Linked DNA regions of Homo sapiens: region 2 is linked to region 1. Evidence: promoter capture Hi-C in 16 types of primary human blood cells and fetal thymus (Javierre and others, 2016). All regions are on one chromosome and are shown on one strand. The core of a region is centred on a gene start or on the middle of the fragment in contact, and the rest is flanking DNA. Distances in the headings are between cores, read along the strand shown. Region 1 holds the start of ACE (angiotensin I converting enzyme). Region 2 overlaps TANC2 (tetratricopeptide repeat, ankyrin repeat and coiled-coil containing 2).

Region 1 (3,738 bases), core at 382-2,881:
TCTCAACCTTTTCTCTCTCTCTTTTTTTTGGGGGGAGGTCTCACTCTGTCACGCAGGCTGGGGTGCAGTAGTGCAATCACAGCTCACTGTAGCCTTGACCTCCTGGGCTCAGGTGATCCTTCCCCCTCAGTTTCAAGAGTAGCTGGGACTGTAGGTGCACGCACCACCAAGCCCAGCTATTTTTTTTTTGTAGAGACGAGGTTTTGCCATGTTGGCCAGGCTGGTCTTGAACTCCTGGGCTCAAGCGATGCGCCCACCTCAGCCTCCCAAAGTGCTGGGATTACAGGCTTGAGCCACCACGCCCAGCCCTTCTCAACTCTTCCAAAGAAGCTCATAAACCAGCCTAGGGAGAAGTGTATTTGAATTTGGCTTCCTACTCCAGAATGCTTCCTTTAACAGAAAGTAACTCCCCACCCCATCTCCAAGAAAAATCAATGCTCAGAAAGCCATTCTGTGCTTACCTGGGCTTTCCCTTCTGTCAGGGCCCATGTGGATCCCAGGGTTCCTCCCTCCCTGATGGGCTGCTCTCCCCCGACCCCCACGATGGGGCACTAGGAGGCCGCCCCCGAGCTCTGCCTCAGCCCTCAGCCCACCTGCTGCCGCTTAGCCAGGGGCAGGTTGGCAGAGCCCAGGGTGCGCACAGCTCCGATGATCCTGCGCAGCTGCGGGTCCGTGAAGTTCTGCCAGATCGGTTCATACAGCTCCTTGGCCTTCTGGCCCCAGGCCTCCGCAAACTCCTGGCTGAGCAGGGCTGCTTCCTCCTATTGGGCACCAGGAGGGCAGGGAGGGTGTAGGACCCTGCTTAGATGCAGGCCATAAAGGAGAAGCCACGGTGCTGGGGGAGGGGAGGAAGGCCAAGGGCTTCCAGAGCCCGGGCCCTGGGGAGATCCCTGCGGGAGACCTTAGTTTGCGGAAGCCGCGCTTCCTCCTTCTGGAGGGAATCTGCCTCATGGGAATGGTGGAGCAGAAATTGGGACCAGAAAAGAGGCCGGGCGAGTGGAGGGTGGATGGACAGTGCAGTGCGGTGACGGTGACAGCGACAGCGTCCGGAGGTGAGAAGGCAGCTGCCCGAGAGCGCGGGGGCCCCAGAGCCAAGCCCAGCACCTTCGGCGAAGGCGGGCGCGGCCTGGGAGCAGCCACCCTCATCCATCCAACTCGTGCATGCTGGGAGCGCAGGCCGTGCGCGCAGCCCGGCGCTCGGGCCCCGCGGCTGACTGTCGGGGCGAGGGTCCGGGGTCGGGGTGGGGTTCGGGTCGGGGGCGCCAGCCTGCCCGCCCCACAAGCCGGCCGCGTGCTGTGATTGGCCGCCGCGGCCCCGCCCCGCCCCCGCCCGGGCCCGGGCGCCCACCTGGCGCCTTGCATTCTCCGCGGTGATGTTGGTGTCGTGCGCCCAGCTGGCGGCCACGCTCTGGAACAGCACCTGTTCGGCGCTGGAGTTGTAGCTCTGCGCGAAGAGCTGCGCCCCGGCCTCGTCAGCAGAAAAGTTGCCGGGCTGCAGCCCGGGGTCCAACGCCAGGGCGGGCTGCGGCGGCAGCAGCAACAGCAGCGGCAGCGGCAGCAGCAGCCCCGGCCCCCGGCGGCCCGAGGCGGCCCCCATGACGCGGTGCGCGGTGCTCGGCTCTGCCCCTTCTCCTGCGCCGCGGCCGCCCTGCGGGTTATAAAACCCGACACACCCCCGCCCCCGCCCCGCCGCGCTTCCTCCTCCGCTCCAGAGTCCCCAGCGGCGCGGGCCGAGGTTCCTGGCCCGCCCCGGGCAGGGGCGCGGGCCGGGGAGGGGCCGAGGTGCAGCCCGGGGGTGGCGGGATGGGGCTGGGTCGGGCTCCCGCAGAGGAAGCTGGAGAAAGGGCCTCCTCTCTTTAGAAGATGGGGACCCGGCAGTTTGCCGGAACACCCGAGCCTGCCCACCGTGCGGCCGCGCAGCCTCGGCCGGGGCCTGGGAGCCTAGCGGCCTCCGGCTCGATCTTCCCAGCCCGACCCCCCGGAGCCTCCCGCCTCCGGAGTGACAAGGCCGGGGCCCCAGGAGCTGTCCGCAGGCGCCGCTCGTGCGGCGGGGATGGGGCTGATCGGGCCTGGCCGGCTTCTTCACCAGGCCATGGTCGAGGGGCGGGGACGTCGCCTGCCGGGGGTAGGGGTGTGGCGGGGGGGAGAGGAGGGAGGCGGGGACCTTAGGTGTCTTGCAGGCGCCTCCGGGAGGTGCTGGAGGGGCTCAGGGCGGCCGGCACACCTGGGGCTTGGGGCTGCGAGGGAGGGGGAGCCACAGAGCGCAGGAGCTTTGGAGCGCCTGCCCTCTTTCCCCCCGAGGACACAGGCTGCCAGTCGCTCAGCAGAAAACATCACACACGATCCCAACAGAGTCCTAGAACCCGAGGCTAGCAGGCTTTGAGAGCGACACAAAGCCTCAGAGATGAGAACAACCCCCTCATTTTACAGATGAAGAAATTGCCGCTCAGGTTGAGAGGCTTGCTCCAAGTCACCTCAGGTCTCCACACTCCCCTGTGTTTTCCTGTCTCATCCACGTGTCCCTCAAAGTGACAAGTGTGGGGGAGGGAGGACAGTCTTGTCCTATTGGCGCACAGGGCGGTTGTGGAGGCCACCTCGGCACCATGGCGTCTGCTGCCAGAGGGGGGAAGCCCCTTGACCCTGGCAGAGGCCCGGCGGCGCAGTGGGAGGTGGGGCAATGGAGGAACCGTGGGGTGAGGCTGGGCGGTGGGATCAGGGAAGGAGCCAGGGACAGCTGCTCCCAAGACCCCAACCCATTAGGCTGCTGGGGGCTGTTGGGAATCACTTGGGCTTCTGGGTGAGTGGGGGATGGTGTCTGGGGCTCTGAGGGACACGTGCACCTTGCTGTGCAGCATGGAGTGTGTGCAGGAGGCTGTGACCCCGCGTTCCTGTGAGATGCACCTCCAGTGAGATCGCACTGACTTGTCAGATGACGTGTTGCAGGGGAGAGGGGGCGGTGGGGAGAGGAAGAAGGTGGCTGTCCCTAGCACTAGAGGGAGAAGGCAGGGCCTTGTTAAACACTGGCCGGCAGTGGGGCCGGGAGAGGAGAGCTGGGGTCAGGCCTGGCCCTGGCCCGCTTTGCCAGCCTCCCTCCTGACCTGCAGTTTTCCCTCACAACTCCTCCCTGCCCAGTTTGGCTTGGAGAGCCAGTGGATACCAGAGGACATGGGTGCACTTCTGGGCCGGCTACGTTGGTGGACGTTTGTGATCAGAGCAGCCCCATCGAAGGCCAGGGGCCAGGGAGGGCAAGGTGGTGGCCTGGGCTCTCCTCCCAGGAGCCACCCTGCTCTCAGGGGTCCTAACAGCTTGGCCTTCCAGGCTTTGAGGGCTGTGGGTGTCTGTGTGCAAATGAGCTGCTGTCTCCTGGGAGGAAGCAGTCTTTCTGTGGAAAGAGGCTTGGGTGGGGAAGAGATGAGAGTGGGGCTCTGTCAGCCTCTGAAGGAGGGGCCAAGGGAGGAGAGATGAGTAGAGAGGAGAAGAGCCTGAGGCCTAACCTGTATCCAGAGGCCCTCAGCCAGAGGCTGGCCTCGCCTCCAAAGAGTTCCTGAGAACCCTCTTCAGGAGGGTGGAGGGCGGGCATTGCTTCTGCTGGTTCATTCTCCCGTCTGACTCCAAGGCATTTCCACAATGTCTATAGACCCTGGGTTAGGGACTGTGTCAGCAATAAACAGCCTCCGCCTCCACTTCCGACAGGGTTGGAAGATAATGGAAGTCTTCCCCTGGACCTGGAGCAGCTGA
Region 2 (6,510 bases), core at 1,575-4,074, 410 kb after region 1:
CTCAATAAATGATTGTCTGAAATTTTATAATCTATTTTTCATCATTTTGGGTTCTCAACTCATTCTCTTTCAGATCATTCATTCACCATTTATTTAGTGACTACTATATACTATGTACTTATTATTGGCACATAAGGATACAGCAGTGAACAAAGCATAAAAATCACTGCTATCACGCAACATCCATTCTAGTTTTGAACAGAGAAAATAAACAGAATAAATAGGAAGGTGGTAAGTACTATAAAGAAAAAGGAATAGAGAGCTGGTGGTCATGCAATGTTAAATAAGTTAGAAAAGGTCTAACTGGGTATTTCACTGACTCAGAATGTTTTTACCTAGTTTTGAAGTTGTCCCTTCAAAAATTAATCAAAGGCCTATGATAATAAATTTTAAATAGAAAAGAAAAATAAGTAGGAAGATCCTAATATAGCAATTACCAACAAAAACCATTTCTTCTGAGACAGCTAAGACAACAAATACTATATTGATGAAATTTAAAAAGCCAGTGTGTGATGATACTCCAACAAATGTTGGTGTTGAAAATTCACTTTTGGATCCATTCCAAAAGTGATATCCAGATATATACCATAATGCTTCAAAATTACTTAAAAGTTAATATCATTTAAAAAAACAGGCACAAGACAATATTTAATTTTCATATATCTTGAATAAATAATATATAGATTTTTACATCATATCATTTAAATCCTAAATGAGAAACTAGAATATCTAAACTATACCATGGCAATATCCTAGTCTCCAAATTAAGTACTAGAAAGAAATATCTATCGTTATTTTTTGAAATTTAATAATCAATCTGATGAAAATTTACCTTGCCCAGAGCGGCTTTGGCGAGAGTCTACACTTGACTGTCTTCGATCCGGTGGTTCCTCGCTCCCTCCATCTGCATAAAATTAAAAGGAGCATAAGCAAATAGATAATGAGATTGACATAACAGTGTCTCTGACATTATCTACATTTAAAACTACTATATCGATCATTTATTTGTATTTCCTATAATCCGGATCATTAAAATATTTGAGGATTTTTCTTATATAAACCAATGGTTCTTACCCTGATTTTTGTGGGTTTACACTCCCCTCTTGAAGTCTTAAGAAAGTGTAGGTGTTTTTCCCCTCCCCCATATGTATATACTCTACTTTGCATATAATGAAGGAAAGTTATCAACACCAAAGTTCAGTCACAGAATTCCAGTTAAGAAGGCCTGATTTAAAACAATCTTTTAAATTAATTACAGCTGCTTTTTCTGTCTAAAGTACAACAGCACATCAAATAATCCCTAGTACTGTTTTACTATAATAAGAATTACATTCGTATGTTTTATGAAATAAAAATCAATAAACCTATAAAATAAATCAATAAAAGCTAAAAACCAAATAAATCTTGAGTTTATTTTACCATGATTTTTAAAATTATATAGAAACAAATCCATTTCATTGTATACATCTTCTTTTAAGAAATAACCAAAACAGTATATTCCCTCATGCATGTTAAGAAAAGCTAAAACAAATTTTACTTTATTGTAAATAATTGCCTCAATTTTGTTATATAGAAACAGAAAAATTATGCATCATAAATTCATTAAAATAGGCACAGTAAAACAGAAATTAATATATTAAGAATGTAAAGTATAATATAAAATATGAAACTAAACCAAGCAAAATCTTTAACATAGTGGTCTATACACCTATAAATTTGTTATCACTTTAATCAGATGAAAAATGCATTAAGGCATCAAACAATTTCCTTTGTTCGTTCTTTCATACAATCACTTGTCTTATTTTTAACTTGACAGGGAAAAGGGGTAGTAGCTGCAAGCAGGTTTAATAAAGAGTATTCTTGCTCTGTCATCTACTTATTCTATGGTTTATTGTTTTTAATAGAGCTCGTGTAGTAACATCTATTGCTTTTTAAACAGAATGGCCTGTTTTTTAATTCATTATTGATATAAAGCTTCCTTTTAAGTATATTTATTATATGTAAGGCCTAGCAATAATTAAATCCAATTCATGTATATATATCAACTATTCTCTATTTTGTAGAGGGCTGTTAAACTAGCAAGTACAGTAACATTTAATCAATCGATTCCAAATATACGACGACAATACAAAATAATAAGTACATTGCCAGGAAATATTCATATCTCTTAGTCCACAGTAATCTAGTAAAACACTCCACTAATTTAGTCAGATTTGTAAAATAACTTATCACATAGAAAGATACTCAAAGTGATAGGCAACCATATTTTTTCCTCCAGTATGAAAATACTTTTTAAATATAAATCAGTTTATTTTAGTTCTGCTGTTACTATATAAGTTACCACATTTGAATAAAAATAGACATGTTGACAAAATAAGGTGTTATCTGAAAGACAAATATAAGAAATTTTTCTTTGACATTATTTTTAAAAATTAAAGCAAAAATCTACTCATGGATTATCATCTCTGAATGGCTGATCTGCCTCTGTTGAAATTAAAACTTAAATTCTTTAATTTTGTCCTTTTAAAGGAAATGTGAACATTTACAATCCTTCTTAACTGTATATCAAATTCTAAGTAAACAACTCTATAAATATGGATTCTTTTTAATAAGGCTCAGTATTTCAACTGGGCCAACTCAAATTTAATTTCTAAGTTTTAAACCCTCTAGGATTCCTTCTACCTCACTCTCTTGTGAATTAATATTCAATATGTCCAAAAATCCTAAAGTTTTCTCTTCTTTCTAAAATGTATTTAAGAACAGAAAGGCAGCCAATAATTACTATGTACTCTCTGCCAGGTATTTTACATAGTTCATCAAAGCCCTATGAAGTAAAGACCTATTTCACAGCTGAGAACACTGAAACTCATGGTGACTAACTGAAATCCAATGACAAAACCAGTAAAAATGAAACTGGATTTTAACCCAAGGATGTTTGACTCAATACATCTCTCTGATACTAATTTCTACCCAAATTTATTAAATATTTTGAGTTCAATTCATGTTCCCGTTTTATTCTTTTCTCATAAAAACGATGTTAAAAAAGCACTAATCAGTAACTATAGCAATTATTCCTTTACAGAATAGAGGCATTCTAACAAAGCAGGTTATGAAGACTTAGTCTTACAATATAACCTTCCTATGTGCTTCCAATATAAAATCAAAAGATATATTCTCTAAAGAAAAAAAAATGTTTTTCCCAAAAGCCATGTTTGGTGTCTCTGTCTATTCATTCTACTAAAAGAGAGCTTCTCTTGACAATCAACTGGCCACAACCAAAATAAAGTACCTCAGTAGGAATTCTGGTACACTGCCAACCCTATAACCCTCCCTCTCCAGGTCTATATTACTGCTCCTTTCTAATGAAGACCACTATTTAAGAAATTCTAGGGCTGAGCAAAATGATTCACACCTGTAATCCCAGCACTTTGGGAGCCCAAGGTGGGAGGATCGCTTGAGGCCAGGAATTTGAGGTTACAATGAGCTATGCTATGATCACACCACCACACTCCAATTAGGTGACAAGGGGAGACCTTGACTCTTTAAAAAAAAAAATTCTACACTCTATTAAGAAAATTTGGCACCTGACATTCTGTATACCCATGCTTAGGTAACTAAAGTCCCTATCATGCATCTATTCCCCACATCTATGAAATCTATCACAGCAAGCTTAGGTATACATGCTTTACAAGGAATTCAAGAAAAAAGCTGCTCTAACAAGAAAAGAAGTAAGTAAAAGTAGTTCTTTCTAAATGCTTACAGTGTGAAAATACGATACATTTTCTTTTTAGTGAAAAGGTCAATGCTCATGACACTGATATATGAATTACTCTTATCAAATCAACCACTTGAGATGGAAACATTTTTAACTCACCTATAGTGAGGCACAATGTTAACCTGCATGTGCTGTCATAGAAATTACATTGTGAGAAACAACTAAGAACCCTGACCTGCTTAATGTTTTTTAAAAAAATCTTTAAACACATTTACCTAGAATAATTTGCATTTTAAAAAGATACCCCTTATAGTAGTGTAGAGACTAGGGTGGTGGTTTTCGATACTGGATGAACAAACACATGTGGTTCTACTCTAATAAAATTTTCTTTATGGACACTAAAATTTTCATTTCATATAATTTATATGTCACAAAATATTATTATCCTTTTAATTTTTTTTAACCATTTACAAATATAAAAACCATTCTTAGATTATGGGCCCTACAAAAACTAGGAGTGACCTAGATTTGGCCAGTGGGAAATGACCCCTGATCTAAAGGCAGGGAGATTAGTTTAGAAGGCTAATTAGAGCAATCTCTGTGAAAAGGAATGAGTTGAATGACTTGAGAGTAAGGCCAGTAAGGATGAGAAGGCGGCTCTGCAAATGATGTCCGGCCTAGGGGCCATTGAAAGTTTAATGGCTGCATGGGCTCAAGGACCCTTTTCTTGGCTCTCTCTAGGTGATCCTTTAGTGAGTAAAATGTAAAATTCCCAAAAAACCACCCCAAATGAATGGAATACCTGACTGCTTAATTACATGTTACATCTCAATCTTCTCTGTGCCCAAGAAAGGCTCTTGCGAGGTGACTAAAAGTGCACAATGCACTGTGAAAGAGATTTTTTTTCCCCTTAAGTTTATGGTTTTTATTCTAAATAAACATTGTTGAAAACCACAATATCTAGATTATGTGGTAATATCATTTCCTATTTTCATGAAAAACTAATGTGTACATAATTTCTACAGTCTGAATTTGATACTTGGGTTTGAAACCAAAATTATATTTTGAATATGAAAATCCATTTATAAAAATTTCTGTAAACAAGTATTTTACATAAACACTTCATGATAGTTAATAAGGAAATAAAAGCAGCCCAGCAAAAGTTTCTATTGGTAACCTATTTTCTCCAAATGCAGAATGAAAATATGGCATGTCAAAAAAGACAGACCCAGGCAAAACAGAAGAATACAACAGTCCTCTGTAGAGGACCTACTCCTTTTATTTAATTTGTAATTATTTATAAGAAGTTTTCATGAAAAAAGCACAATGGAACCCAGTAATCACTAAGATGCCTGAGACAGACATCAACAAATTACTAGAGGAGATATGAAATAATATGCCTGTGAATGAAATACAAAAATAAGAAACTTTTTAGAATGTTTAATTTGTATTCTACTTTTAGTAAGGTTACCAGGAAATGTGTGGGAATATATACTCATGTACATACAAATGAACAAAAAGTCAGTATGTGGGCATAATAAGACCTGAGTTTTAGTTCCATATCTGTCATTTTTAGATGATTTCTCTGAGTCTCAGTGTTTTCATCTGTAAAACTGAGGTCAAAGTAACATCTTCTTCTGAAGGCTGTTGTGAGGTTCAAATGAGCTAACACATGTGACAGCACTTTGTAGTCTCTAAATTGGTGATTTTCAACCAGGAGCAAACCACGGACTTCTAGGGACATTTTTGGTTGTTACAATTGGAAGAGTGCTACTCATTTCTAAAGGGCAGAGGCTAGGGATGCTGCTAAATATTCTAGAATTCACAGGACTGCCTACCACCACAAAGAATTATCAGGCCTCAGATTTCAACAGTGCCAATAGCTGAGAAATATGTTCATAATGTAAATGTTCATAACAATCATAATTATCAAAATTATATACAAATAAGTTAATTATCTTATTGTAAATAAATTTAATATATAGAAAATACGGTGAAAAATATAACTCACACTGATATAGCAACTATCAAACTTCACCAAATCTTAAGATTTCCCATATTTACATCAATTTGTTTTAAACTAAAACACTACCAGTTGTACACAGCTGATATTTTCATTATACAGTTCTCCAATACAGTTTCCCTTCTTCCATCCCTCCCCAAATTAACCGCTATATCTTAATATGTAAAATCACAAGCATGTTTTTATACTTTTATTACATATATATGCCTCCACAAATGTTTATATTACGTAAGTGTAATGATACTATATCATCCAGCAATGTGCCATTTTTACTTAATACTTATGTTTTGAAATTTATCTGTGTGGACGTTCATTTTAACTCTAGAATTCATTTTAACTCTAGAATAAAAACATGCATGTTTTTATACTTTTATTACATATATATGCCTCCACAAATGTTTATACTATGTAAGTGTAATGAAACTATATCATCCAGCAATGTGCCATTTTTACTTAATACTTATGTTTTGAAATTTATCTGTCGAATTCATTTTAACTCTAGTATTCCACTGTATGAATATATCAATTGTATCTATTCTCTTACTAATGAAGATTTAGATAGTCTCCAAATTTATAGTACTTCAAAAGGAAGTCTGCAATGAACCATTTCCTATAGCACATGTCTAATCTGCTTGTATATAAGCTCCTTGTGCACATGTTCAAGATATAGAAGCGAAACTACTAAATAATATAATGCAAAAACTCCATAAGAGCAACCAAATTTCTGCCAAAGACAGTTGCGTTAATTTTTATTTCCACAAAAAGTTAATGT

Evidence for each region. Contacts are between HindIII fragments. The CHiCAGO score rates a contact against its expected background, and 5 or more counts as called.
Region 2: a fragment that was not itself captured here is called in contact with the fragment with the promoter of ACE in region 1 in 1 of 17 cell types (naive B cells); the score reaches 5.6 in naive B cells.

Annotation. Positions count from the first base shown.
Region 1 is chr17:63,474,954-63,478,691 of GRCh38, reverse strand. It overlaps ACE (angiotensin I converting enzyme), which reads right to left and starts at 1,631. Exons shown (of 25, transcript NM_000789.4): 1 at 1,349-1,631; 2 at 594-761. The coding sequence starts at 1,597. RefSeq lists silencers at 1,122-1,181, 1,282-1,371. The HindIII fragment of the contact is 10,215 bases long and covers 1-3,738 here.
Region 2 is chr17:63,068,337-63,074,846 of GRCh38, reverse strand. It overlaps TANC2 (tetratricopeptide repeat, ankyrin repeat and coiled-coil containing 2), which reads right to left. Exons shown (of 28, transcript NM_001394998.1): 3 at 833-904. Among named protein-coding and RNA genes, the nearest start is that of TANC2, 110 kb to the right of the region's middle. The HindIII fragment of the contact is 1,695 bases long and covers 1,977-3,671 here.